Linked DNA regions of Homo sapiens: all the other regions are linked to region 2. Evidence: promoter capture Hi-C in human tissues and cell types (Jung and others, 2019). All regions are on one chromosome and are shown on one strand. The core of a region is centred on a gene start or on the middle of the fragment in contact, and the rest is flanking DNA. Distances in the headings are between cores, read along the strand shown.

Region 1 (2,798 bases), core at 79-2,578, 440 kb before region 2:
GCCAGTATTTCCTAGCCTACCTTGTAAATAGTGGTGGCCAGTGGGATATAGAAAGTCATTGGATGGGAAATGACTTATTTTTTAAAGAAAATTTTTTCTCTAAAATTTAAGGAAAAACAATCTTTAAATAGAATATATGTATATATTTTTATTTTCAATATATTATGATGTTTTGACATCTTAAAAAAAAATTTCTAGCTGGGAAGAGACTGCCTCCCACCAACACCTTGGCCAATTCTTAGAGATAGCAAAGGGTTCAGCCCCAGCATGCCCACGATCTGCAAACTAACCAACCCAGAGCCTCGCCTGCTCCATCTGGCCTGTACACCCCAGGAGAAGATATTCCTCTGCCTAAATCATCCCAGGGCCAGGCACCAGGTAACTAGAGACCATGCCCATAGCTTAGAGCCCCTCAGATTACTCAAACTAGCAAACCCTAAACTGTTCACCCAGTTTTGCCTTGCTCTTCCTATGTAAACCCCAATAAAGGCTCTGGTCTAAGCCTTCTCTCTCCTGTCTTCTGCTTCCTGACTATCTGGTATCTTTCCCATGTAGTCCTGTCTGGCGTGCCCCACCTCTTGTCTCTAAGGGCAAGTGAGTATACTATACTTTTATTTTCCTGTCTTCTCTTTTGGCCACTTCTGTCTGCCATCACATAAAAAAAATTAAAAATATGGGGTTTACTCAGATGGTAGTTGCCCTTTTGCTCTTCCCTGCTTTTTTCTTTCTTTTGTTTTTTAAATCTTCTTTCTGGAACTATGACATGATGGTTGGGGCTACTGGGGCCACCTTGTAGCTTTACAGTGACCTTGATGATAAAAGTCATGACCTAAGGATGGCAAAACAAAAACAAAGAAGAAACTGGCTCCATGATGATATTAAGTCAATTAAATCAGTCCTGGACAATCTACATCTGAATTTCATGTCATGTGAGAGAAAAATAAAATCCTTCCTAGTTTAATTCACTGTTATTTCAGGTCTCTGTAACCAGTTAGCCAAATGTAATCTCCAGCTGATACAATGGCCCTGTGTTTTCCTCATGCTATTCAATCTCTTGAGGGTGCCCTTCTTCCCTCTACCTTCCATTTCTCCTCTTTTCAAAATGCTACTCAGTCTTCAAAATGTGGCACCAATGCCACCTCCTCCTGAATTATTTCCTCCTTCCACAGCTACTCGATACTTTGCTTTTCCCCTGTGTAACAGCAACACGAGAGCTCTACAATCCACCAGCCGTGAGACTGTAAGCACATCATTAACTTCTCCAAGGCTGACTTCCTTCATCTGCAAGACGGGGGTGGAGAAAGTTCTGATTCATATTATTATTGAGATAAATAAATGAGATATAGTACATGAAAGAGTGTAATGCCTGACACATAACTAAGTACTCAATAAATGCCCCTAATGGTTATTAATATTATTATTATTGCCATTATACTTGTGCCTCCATTCATTGATTTTAGGTCTGTCTCCCTGATAGCATAAAAGTACATGACAATGACTCATCCTCCTCATATTCCCCTAGCATCTAATTTACAGGTTAGGTGGATTGATGAACAAATGAATAAATAGCAAGATTGTATTAACTAATATAATAATGGCCAGGAAGGTGTAATGGACTTGCCCAAGGACTTTCTTTAGACAAAAGAAAAATTAGAAGGCAAACTTGACAACAATATATGAACATATTCCCAGTAATAGTTCATTCATTTCAAATATTGTTTTGTCTGCTTACAGAGGCTTTTGTCACTTGCAAGTTGGTGGAAGTGATAACACACTTGTGCAACCTGAGCAAGCTCCTTGCGCAACAGAAGGGAAAATATGCAAATCCATATTTCATCAGGCAGTAGTAGCCACTGTGAGAAATCGGCATCTCTATTGTGTGCTTGGAATGGAACAAGAGACAATGTACCATTAAAAGGCTAGTGCAGCAGGGAAAGATCACACATCTCCAAAAGAAAAGAAATGAAATGCACTGCATTTGCACAAAACACACATACCGGACAGAGACCAGGATCTCTTTTCCTCCCTTCCACCTACCGCAGCCCAGCTCACCCACAACACAGAGTCCACATCCCAGCGTTTGGAAACCAAAATGAAAAACATCAATAGAGAAGCCTAACTTAAGATTTTTAAACCCCTTGAGTTCACTACTCTGTGCCATCTTATTGGTATTAGTCAACCACAGCTCAAGGTCTTCCATATCTGTCTGTGGTGTGGTACTGTCCACAAATATTACTATGTCTGGCAAGGAGAGACCCCAGCCACAGTTCTGTGGCTCCCTGTTTGACTATGTCCCCCAGCCATAGCCCAGCCCACATGAGGGGAGGCAGCCTCAGCTACTGGTGCTGGACAAGACCTTTGAATTGGTCAAAGCATCTTTGTCACCAGCTGATACGGGTTGGCTGCGTCCCCAACCAAATCTCATCTTGAATTGTAGTTCCCATAATCCCCACATGTCGTGGGAGGGGCCCAGTGGCAGGTAATTGAATCATGGGGGCAGTTACCCCCATGCTGTTCTCATGACAGTGAGTGAGTTCTAATGACATCTGAGGGTTTTATAAGGGGCTTTCCCCACTTTTGCTCGGCACTTCTTGCTGCTGCCATGTGAAGAAGGATGTATTTGCTTCCACTTCTGCAATGATTCTAAGTTTCCTGAGGTCTCCCCAGCCATGCTGCACTGTGAGTCAATTAAACCTCTTTCCTGTATAAATTACCCAGTCTTGGGTATGTCTTTATTAGCAGTATAAGAACAGACTAATACACCAGCTTTCTTGCCCCTCCCAGATCAGACATCAGGA
Region 2 (2,700 bases), core at 185-2,684:
CGAAGCAGGGCACGAGTTAAGAGTATTTGCATACACATCTATTCCTCTTATCAAGCTTGAGAATGCCTAGAGGGTAATCTTTTAAATGAATATTAATATGATATTAACCAGCACATGGTAGATGTTCAAGAAATGTGTATTGACCATAACTGAATTGTAAGACCTCTCTCCAAGCCTCAATTTCTTCACCTGTACAGCCCCCATCCAGATTGAAATCTCACCTACTCGGGCTAAGTATATGAAAAACAAAGGCAGTGCAGGGGTAATTGAACTATTCATTAGATAAATGCTTTTATGTCACTTTTATTGTTTTCTAGGACACAGAGTAATACCTACCTTGGTTAACAAAAGACCAAAGGAGGTGATGCCAAATGCGGTTAGAAGTGCTTTTAATCACTTTGGGAGGCCGAGGCGGGTGGATCATGAGGTCAGGAGATCGAGACCATCCTGGCTAACAAGGTGAAACCCCGTCTCTACTAAAAATACAAAAAAAATTAGCCGGGCGCGGTGGCGGGCGCCTGTAGTCCCAGCTACTCGGGAGGCTGAGGCAGGAGAATGGCGTGAACCCGGGAAGCGGAGCTTGCAGTGAGCCGAGATTGCGCCACTGCAGTCCGCAGTCCCACCTGGGCGACAGAGCGAGACTCCGTCTCAAAAAAAAAAAGAAGTGCTTTTAATCAAATAGTTCAAACGACACATAATTAACATTGTTTTAAAGCAAATGGACACTTTAAAGTGGTGCTCCTTCCTCTTAAAGCCCCAACCAGTGCTGGATTTAACAGCAGAGCCATACAGCCAAGACATATGCTGCTACGGTCAACACTCAACCCTAAGTTTGACACCAAAAGATGGCCGCCATTTATTATTGTGACAAAAGGCCAGATTACAAAACGCTGTGTACGGCCTGATCCCAGTTTTACAAAATACTCATACCCATCTATCTACGACGGGGCGCGGGGAAAGGGGAGTCGTTTTAGGAAGTGCTGCTTATTGCTGCCTGGTGTGGGAAATTATGAGTCTTATTTTCTGTTTATTCTTTTTACAAGAACATTTTTATAAATGAATGAATGAATGCTTTCCATGGGTGGATGAGGATCCGGCCTGCCAGGGTGAGGATCCTCTGGAACCAAGAGGGGCCGGGGCAGTAGAACGACAGGTGGCGGGGCTTTGGGCGGCTCCCTCCAGCCCAGGGAGACGCGAGTGCCAGGCCGGGCGCGCGCTTCACTTCCGGGAAGAGGAAAGAGGGAGGGGAGGGGAGAGGAAAAGAAGGGGCAGGAGAGAGAGGCCGGGAGGTTGGGAAAGGGAGGAGGAAAGCATGGAAAAGGGGCGCGGGAAAACGGGGAGGGCGCAGAGGGGCACGGCCCTCACTGCCCCGGCCGGGGCGAGAGCGGCTCCGCCCCTCGAGCGCCGGGTAGGCCGGGGCCGGCGGGGCCCGGAAGGCGACGGGAAGGAGCCGAGCTTGGGTTATGGCGGCGCCGGGCGCGCTGCTGGTGATGGGCGTGAGCGGCTCGGGGAAGTAGGTCCGGGAGAGGGCGGGGGGCGCCCGGGACAAGTGTTGCGGGCGCGGCGGAGGCCGGACGCGTCGCCGTCCCTGCCGGTGGACTGGGGTCTTGGGGACCCCCCACCCTTCCCTTTGCAGATGAAGAAACCGAGGCCCGCGGCTGCCGCGCCCTCTCCCCGCCCTCCAGCCTGCTCGCGGGGCGCCCATCCTGGGACCGCATCCGAGCTCCGGGTTCCCGCTCTAAGACGGGGAGGCTGCGGCGACCGCAGGCTCAGGGAGGAAGCCGCTCCTGAACAGGCGGCTGCGGGGCCGCGCAGGTGGAGGCCTAGCGAGCGGCGCGGGGCTAGGTTTCGGGGCGCCTTGTCGGGGCCAGGCGGGAGGGCGCACGGCCTCTAGCGAGAGGACGCAAACCACGGCCCAGGCTCTCACAGACCTTTGGCCATCTGGACACACAGCGGCCTCCTCCTATGAGGCCCTGGACTTCTCCGATTCAATTTTGGAAAGTGAATCGTTTTCCCCTTCCTTTCATCAGCTTAACCTGGAAGGAGACAGCGTTAATATGGAGGGTGGCTCCTGAGGGTTTGGAAAGAAAGAAGAGAATTGTGGAAACCACAGAGGTAGCCCAGTGTGCTAACCTGGAGACTGAGGAGTTAACATTTGGCTTCCTGTTTAAACCAAAGTCTAACTGTGCCCTTTATCAGAAAAGACAGCTGCTGTACCATTCGACCACAGGCAGCAAAGGACAGAACTTGATCAGCTAAAACATCATAACCTTCAAGGGCCTATAGGACCCTTCTAGAATTTTCTGAATCAGGAACGGCCCATGTTGTGGCCTGTGTAGTCAGGTGTATATTAAAGATTTACTCCAGGTAGATGGGTTTTGCTTTCCAAAATTATTGTAGGGTTCTCAGCCACAAAGATAAAAAGAAATCTTGAACTGCAATTGAAATAAAACATGGAGCCCCCAAATCCCTAGCTGCCATATGATTTGAATCAGTTGGAGAATGTAAAATCATTGCCATGGTGTGATGTAACAGGAGTGAAGAGCCCTAGGTCTTGGTTCTGTTGCTGTCTGGCTGTGTGAGCCTGGGCAGTTCATGTACCCCCTCTGAGTCTTGAATCAGATGAGGGAGGCCTAATCCCTATGATGTATAGCTTGTGATATTCATGTACTCAGTAATTATTGAGCTCAATCCTTACTC
Region 3 (2,873 bases), core at 215-2,714, 370 kb before region 2:
AGAGTAGAGTGGCCTGACTGTTAAAAGAAAAACAAACAAACAGAAAACAACAACATCAACAAAAAAGACCCCACAAAAACTTCATTCAAAGGTCAGCAACCATAAAGATCGAAGATAGATAAGCCCACAAAGATGAAAACAATCAATGCAAAAACACTGAAAACTGAAAAAACCATAATGCCTCTTCTCATCCAAATGACCACAATATCTCTCTAGCAAGGGCACAGAACTGGGCTAAGGCTGAGATGGATGAATTGACAGAAGTAGGCTTCAGAAGGTGGGTAATAACGAACATCACTGAGCTAAAGGAGTATGTTCTAACCCAATGCAAAGAAGGTAAGACTCACAATGATACAATACAGGGGCTGATAGCCAGAATAGCCAGGTTAGAGAGGAACATAATGGACCTGATGGAGCTGAAAAACACAACACGAGAACTTCACAATGAAATCACAAGTATCAGTAGCAGAATAGACCAAGTTGAGCAAAGAATCTTAGAGCTTGAAGACTATCTTTCTGAAATAAGACAGGCAGACAAGAATAGAGTAAAAGGAATAAAAAATAATGAACAAAACCTCTGAGAAATATGCGATTATGTGAAGAGCCTGAACCTATCCCTGATTCTGACTGAGGTAACTGAAAGATACAGGAAGAATGGAACCAAGTTAGAAAATATACTTCAGGATATCATCCAGGAGAACTTCCCCAACCTAGCAAGACCTGCCACCATTCAAACTCAGGAAATGCAGAGAACCCCAGTACATTACTCCACAAGAAGATCATCCCCAAGACATATAATCATCAGATTCTCCAAGTTCGAAATGAAAGAAGAAATGTTAAGGGCAACCAGAGAGAAAGGCCAGGTCATCTACAAAGGGAAACTCATCAGACTAACAGCAGCTCAGCAGAAACCCTACAAGCAAGAAGAGATTGGGGGCCAATATTCAACATTCTTAAAGAAAAGAACTTCCAACCCAGAATTTCATCTTTGGCCAAACTAAGCTTCATAAGTGAAGGAAAAACAAGATTCTTTTTAGAAAAGCAAATGCTGAGGGAATTTGTCACCACTGTACCAGCCTTGCAAGAGCTCCTGAAGGAAGTACTAAATATGGAAAGGAAAAACCATTTCCAGCCACTACAAAAACACACTGAACTACACAGACTGGTGATACTGTGAACCAACCATATAAACAAGTCTGCAAAATAACCAACTAGCATCATGACAGGATCAAATTCACACATAACAATACTAACCTTAAATGTAAATGGGCTAAATGCCCCAAGTAAAAGAAACTGAATGGCAAACTGGGAAAAGAGCCAAGACCCATCAATATGCTGTCTTCAAGAGACCCATCTCACGTGCAAAGACACACATAGGCTCAAAATAAAGGGATGAAGGAAAATGTACCAAGCAAATGGAAAACAGAAAAAAAGCAGGGGTTGCAATCCTAGATTCTGACAAAACAGACTTTAAACCAACAAAGATCAAAAAAGACAAAGGAGGTCATTACATAATGATAGAGTTCAACAGGAAGAGCTAACTATCCTAAATATATATGCACCCAATACAGGAGCACCCAGATTCATAAAGCAAGTGCTTTATGAGACCTACAAAAGCAAGTGCTTAGAGACTTAGACTCTACACAATAATAGTGGGAGACTTTAACACTCCACTGACAATATTAGATAGATCATGGAGAAAGAAAATTAACAAAGATATTCAGGACCTGAACTCAGCTCCAGATCAAGTGGACATGGTAGATATCTACAGAAATCTCCACCTAAATTAAAAAGAAGATATATTCTTATTGCCACATGAGACTTACTCTAAAATTGATCACATAATTGGAAGTAAAACACTCTCCAAGAAATGCAAAAGAACTGAAATCGTAACAGTCTGTCAGCCCACAGTGCAATCAAATTAAAACTCAAGATTAAGAAATTCATTCAAAACCACACAACTACATGGAAATTGAACAACCTGTTACTGAATGACTCTTGGGTAAATAATAAAATTAAGGCAGAAATCAAGAAGTTCTTTGAAACTAATGAGAACAAAGAGACAATGTACCAGAATCTCTGGGATACAGCTAAAACAGCATTAAGCAGGAAATTTATAATGCCCACATCAAAAAGCTAGAAAGATCTCAAAAACAAACAACCCCATCAAAAAGTGGGCAAAAGATATGAACAGACACTTCTCAAAAGAAGACATTAATGCAGCCAACAGACACATGAAAAAATGCTCATCGTCACTGGCCATCAGAGAAATGCAAATCAAAACCACAATGAGATACCATCTCACACCAGTTAGAATGGCGATCATTAAAAAGTCAGGAAACAACAGGTGCTGGAGAGGATGTGGAGAAATAGGAACACTTTGACACTGTTGGTGGGACTGTAAGCTAATTCAACCATTGTGGAAGACAGTGTGGCAATTCCTCAAGGATCTAGAACTAGAAATACCATTTGACCCAGCCATCCCATTATTGGGTATATACCCAAAGGATTATAAATCATGCTGCTATAAAGACACATGCATACATATGTTTATTGTGGCACTATTCACACTGGCAAAGACTTGGAACCAACCCAAATGTCCATCAATGATAGACTGGATTAAGAAAATGTGGCACATATACACCATGGAATACTATGCAGCCATAAAAAATGATGAGTTCATGTCCTTTGTAGGGACATGGATGAAGCCGGAAACCATCATTCTCAGCAAACTATCACAAGGACAAAAAACCAAACACCACATGTTCTCACTCATAGGTGGGAATTGAACAATGAGAACACTTGAACACAGGAAGGGGAACATCACACACTGGGGCCTGTCATGGGGTAGGGGGAAGGGGGAGGGATAGCAT
Region 4 (2,868 bases), core at 344-2,843, 260 kb after region 2:
GGTGGATCACTTGAGGTCAGGAGTTTGAGACCAGCCTGTCCAATGTGGTGAAACTGCGTCTCTACTAAAAATACAAAAATTTGCGGGTGTGGTGGCAGGCACCTGTAATCCCAGCTATTTGAGAGCCTGAGGCAAGAGGATCATTTGAGCCTGGGAGGAGGCAACTGCAGTGGGCTGAGATCATGCCACTGCACTCCAGCCTGGGCAACAGAGCAAGACTTCACCTCAAAAAAAAAGTATGATATGTTAGAGAACTGAAAACCGGTATTGTCATCACCACTATGGGACTCTGACTGAGTTATTTTACCTTTCTAAACCTTTCTTTCCACATTTGTAAAATGGCTAAAAATGCCCACTTCAAAGGATTAAATAATGCGTATAAACCATTTGGTATGTATAGGCCCTCAAATGGTAACTACTGTCCTCCTCATCCTCCTTATCATCCTTATCCCCATGAGTAGTGCATGGATATGTCAAAGGTACAAAATTTCTAAAACTATGTCTTCTTTCTGTCCTCTGCTGTATCAGATGTTTCTTTTGAGGTAAAGTTCTACACCTTTCATTTTCTTTCCTTATCAGTACTCTTAGCAGAAAAGGATATACAGCAGGAAGCAAAGCATGGAAAGGTGAATTCCAAAGTGGAAATAACTATGCTGAAGGAAAATGGAAGGTGTGACATAGATAACCACCCTATGTCCTCCTTTAAGCAGTTCAAATATTCAAGTCATATTATTTTAACTTGATGTTGACTTGAGAAACTATTTAGGTAACAATTTTTAGTGGAAATATCCAGATGTTTGAGGTGGCATCAGAAACCCCAGGAGGGACTTTTCAGGCCTGTCACACCAGAATATACTGGTATATTACAATATACCGGGCACACCAGAGGTATATTGTAAACATCTATTTTGTTTAAAGCAAATAACTGTGGCATAGTTCAATAATAATAATAATAATAATGCTGTGAATAGGTTAATTACAACTCTACCTAAAATGGAAAAATATAAAAATGTTTCTATAACATGAAAGAAAGCAGTAGACCATGAGAGATAAAGAAATAGAGGACACATCCTAGAAAGTTCATTATGATCAGACTAACAAAGCACTGTGACTATCTCCAAAGCACCTGGAAATGGCTTCATCACACAAAATCTCCATGTGATGGAATATTTCTCATAGAATAGAATTTTTAACTGTAGCTATTTCTAAAGTTAAAGCTAAAACCAGGCATTAGGAAGTTAAGGATGAGTTGCAGTACACAAAGTTATTAACCTTTCTTAAGCCAATCAGTTATGGTTTGGGAAAACCATATCTCGAAATAGTTCCCATTTGTTGAGTGTCTACAAAGTGTCATATATGTACCAGCTGTTTTATTTGTATTATTTAATCATTATTTAATCCTTTGTCCTTCAGAAATAAACACTGTTTCGTGGTTACGTTTATTTCTTACCATGTGGTTTTTTGATATGATGATTGAAAGAAGATACTTCTTGAATTAAGAAATATACTACCCAGATTGTAAAATATGTAAATCGACCAGCACACTACAAAAGAAAAGTTGATACCCAGTTTCTCTTGCTGGTATAAACTGAATCCCACTTCTTTCCTAACTCAGTACAAGAATCCTCAGAAGCAAGAAAGCTTAAATAAGTTTTCTCAATTACATTTTTTAAATTACCTGAACTCTCAGCTTTGCAGCATCCATCTTTTTACGAAACTCTTTCTGTAATTTTACCTTCATTGCAACATCAGAAAGATCTTTGTTTTCCAGCTCCTGTAGCTGCTTTTGTGTTTCAATCAGTTCGACTTTTGCCTGTTCTGCATCATGCTCTAGCTTTGTTACTTTCAAAGAATACTGCTTGCTTACAGACTTGGCATCATTACCTTAACCGTAATAATAATTATTATTAGTATAAATTATGTAAAAAGAAGTTAAACATCCAAAACATAAAAATACTCTACTCTAAAATCCAGCCAGGCAGTGATACTATTTAAGGCATAGCATTAAAAACCCAGTTGTCCCCACCCACCCCCATCAAACACAGCTTGCCATCAGGCCTCTTAATAATTAGTTCCTTAATGACTGTTCCCATCTGCTGCCAGTCAGTCTCACTGGTTCAATGTTTGGCGTTTTAGAGTGACATCTCTGGTCCTCTGAATTTGTAGTTGAGCTTTGCTGGCATCAAACTCAGTTAAGAAGGATATTTGGAGTGACTGTTTGTCCTCTTGCTTAGTATACTCCAGCCTCCTGCTACCAATAATCTGTCTGCTTGAATTCCTTTTTTAAATTATTATGAAAATTTTAAAATACAACAAAAGAAATAATAAAATGAACCGCCATCACCCAGATTTAAAAGTTATCAAGATTTTGTCACAGCTGCTTCAAATATGCCTATTGTTTTACTTTGCTTAAATATTATAAAGCAATCCCAAATGTCATTCATCTCACCTATACATACTTCATTTTGTTAAATTCCTCTTTTTACTTATACATACTGCAATCGGCATTCACACAAAATATGGACATAACCAAAAAGTCATTATCACACTAACAATATTAACACCAATCAGTCCATATTCAGACTTCCCCAATTGCCTCAAAATGTGTCTCACAATTGGTTTATTTAAATCAGGATCTAAACAAGGTCCACAATACATTTGATTTGTTATGTCTCTTAAGAATCTTTTCATCCAAAGCTAACTCTCTCCTTTTTCACTAACCCGAACTTATTCAAGATTAATTCCTTTTAAATTCTTTTCTTATTAATATATAGAAGAGAAAAAATAGAATAAAGATATTTCTATATCTCTTGATTCTAAATCCAGCTAGTGACCCTAAAAGCTTGGTTTTGATTTGCTCTGAATAGG

What was found. The method cuts DNA at HindIII sites, captures the fragments that hold promoters and counts their contacts. A contact is called where the count stands out against the background at its distance.
Region 1: a contact is called between a fragment that was not itself captured here and the fragment with the promoter of IDNK in region 2, in 1 of the 25 tissues and cell types used here (dorsolateral prefrontal cortex).
Region 3: a fragment that was not itself captured here is called in contact with the fragment with the promoter of IDNK in region 2 in 1 of the 25 tissues and cell types used here (H1 embryonic stem cells).
Region 4: a fragment that was not itself captured here is called in contact with the fragment with the promoter of IDNK in region 2 in 1 of the 25 tissues and cell types used here (mesenchymal stem cells).

What each region holds. Positions count from the first base shown.
Region 1 is chr9:83,186,672-83,189,469 of GRCh38, forward strand. It overlaps a transcript of RASEF not described here. Among named protein-coding and RNA genes, the nearest start is that of FRMD3-AS1, 31 kb to the right of the region's middle. The HindIII fragment of the contact is 4,691 bases long and covers 1-2,798 here.
Region 2 is chr9:83,621,709-83,624,408 of GRCh38, forward strand. It overlaps IDNK (IDNK gluconokinase), which reads left to right and starts at 1,435. Exons shown (of 5, transcript NM_001001551.4): 1 at 1,435-1,513. The coding sequence starts at 1,464. RefSeq lists a silencer at 1,130-1,659 and enhancers at 1,840-1,969, 1,990-2,039. The HindIII fragment of the contact is 12,457 bases long and covers 1-2,700 here.
Region 3 is chr9:83,251,272-83,254,144 of GRCh38, forward strand. All of the region lies in intron 13 of FRMD3 (FERM domain containing 3), which reads right to left. All of the region lies in intron 2 of FRMD3-AS1 (FRMD3 antisense RNA 1), which reads left to right. Among named protein-coding and RNA genes, the nearest start is that of FRMD3-AS1, 33 kb to the left of the region's middle. The HindIII fragment of the contact is 7,236 bases long and covers 1-2,873 here.
Region 4 is chr9:83,882,135-83,885,002 of GRCh38, forward strand. KIF27 (kinesin family member 27) reads right to left here. Exons shown (of 18, transcript NM_017576.4): 10 at 1,679-1,884. Among named protein-coding and RNA genes, the nearest start is that of KIF27, 38 kb to the right of the region's middle. The HindIII fragment of the contact is 3,526 bases long and covers 1-2,868 here.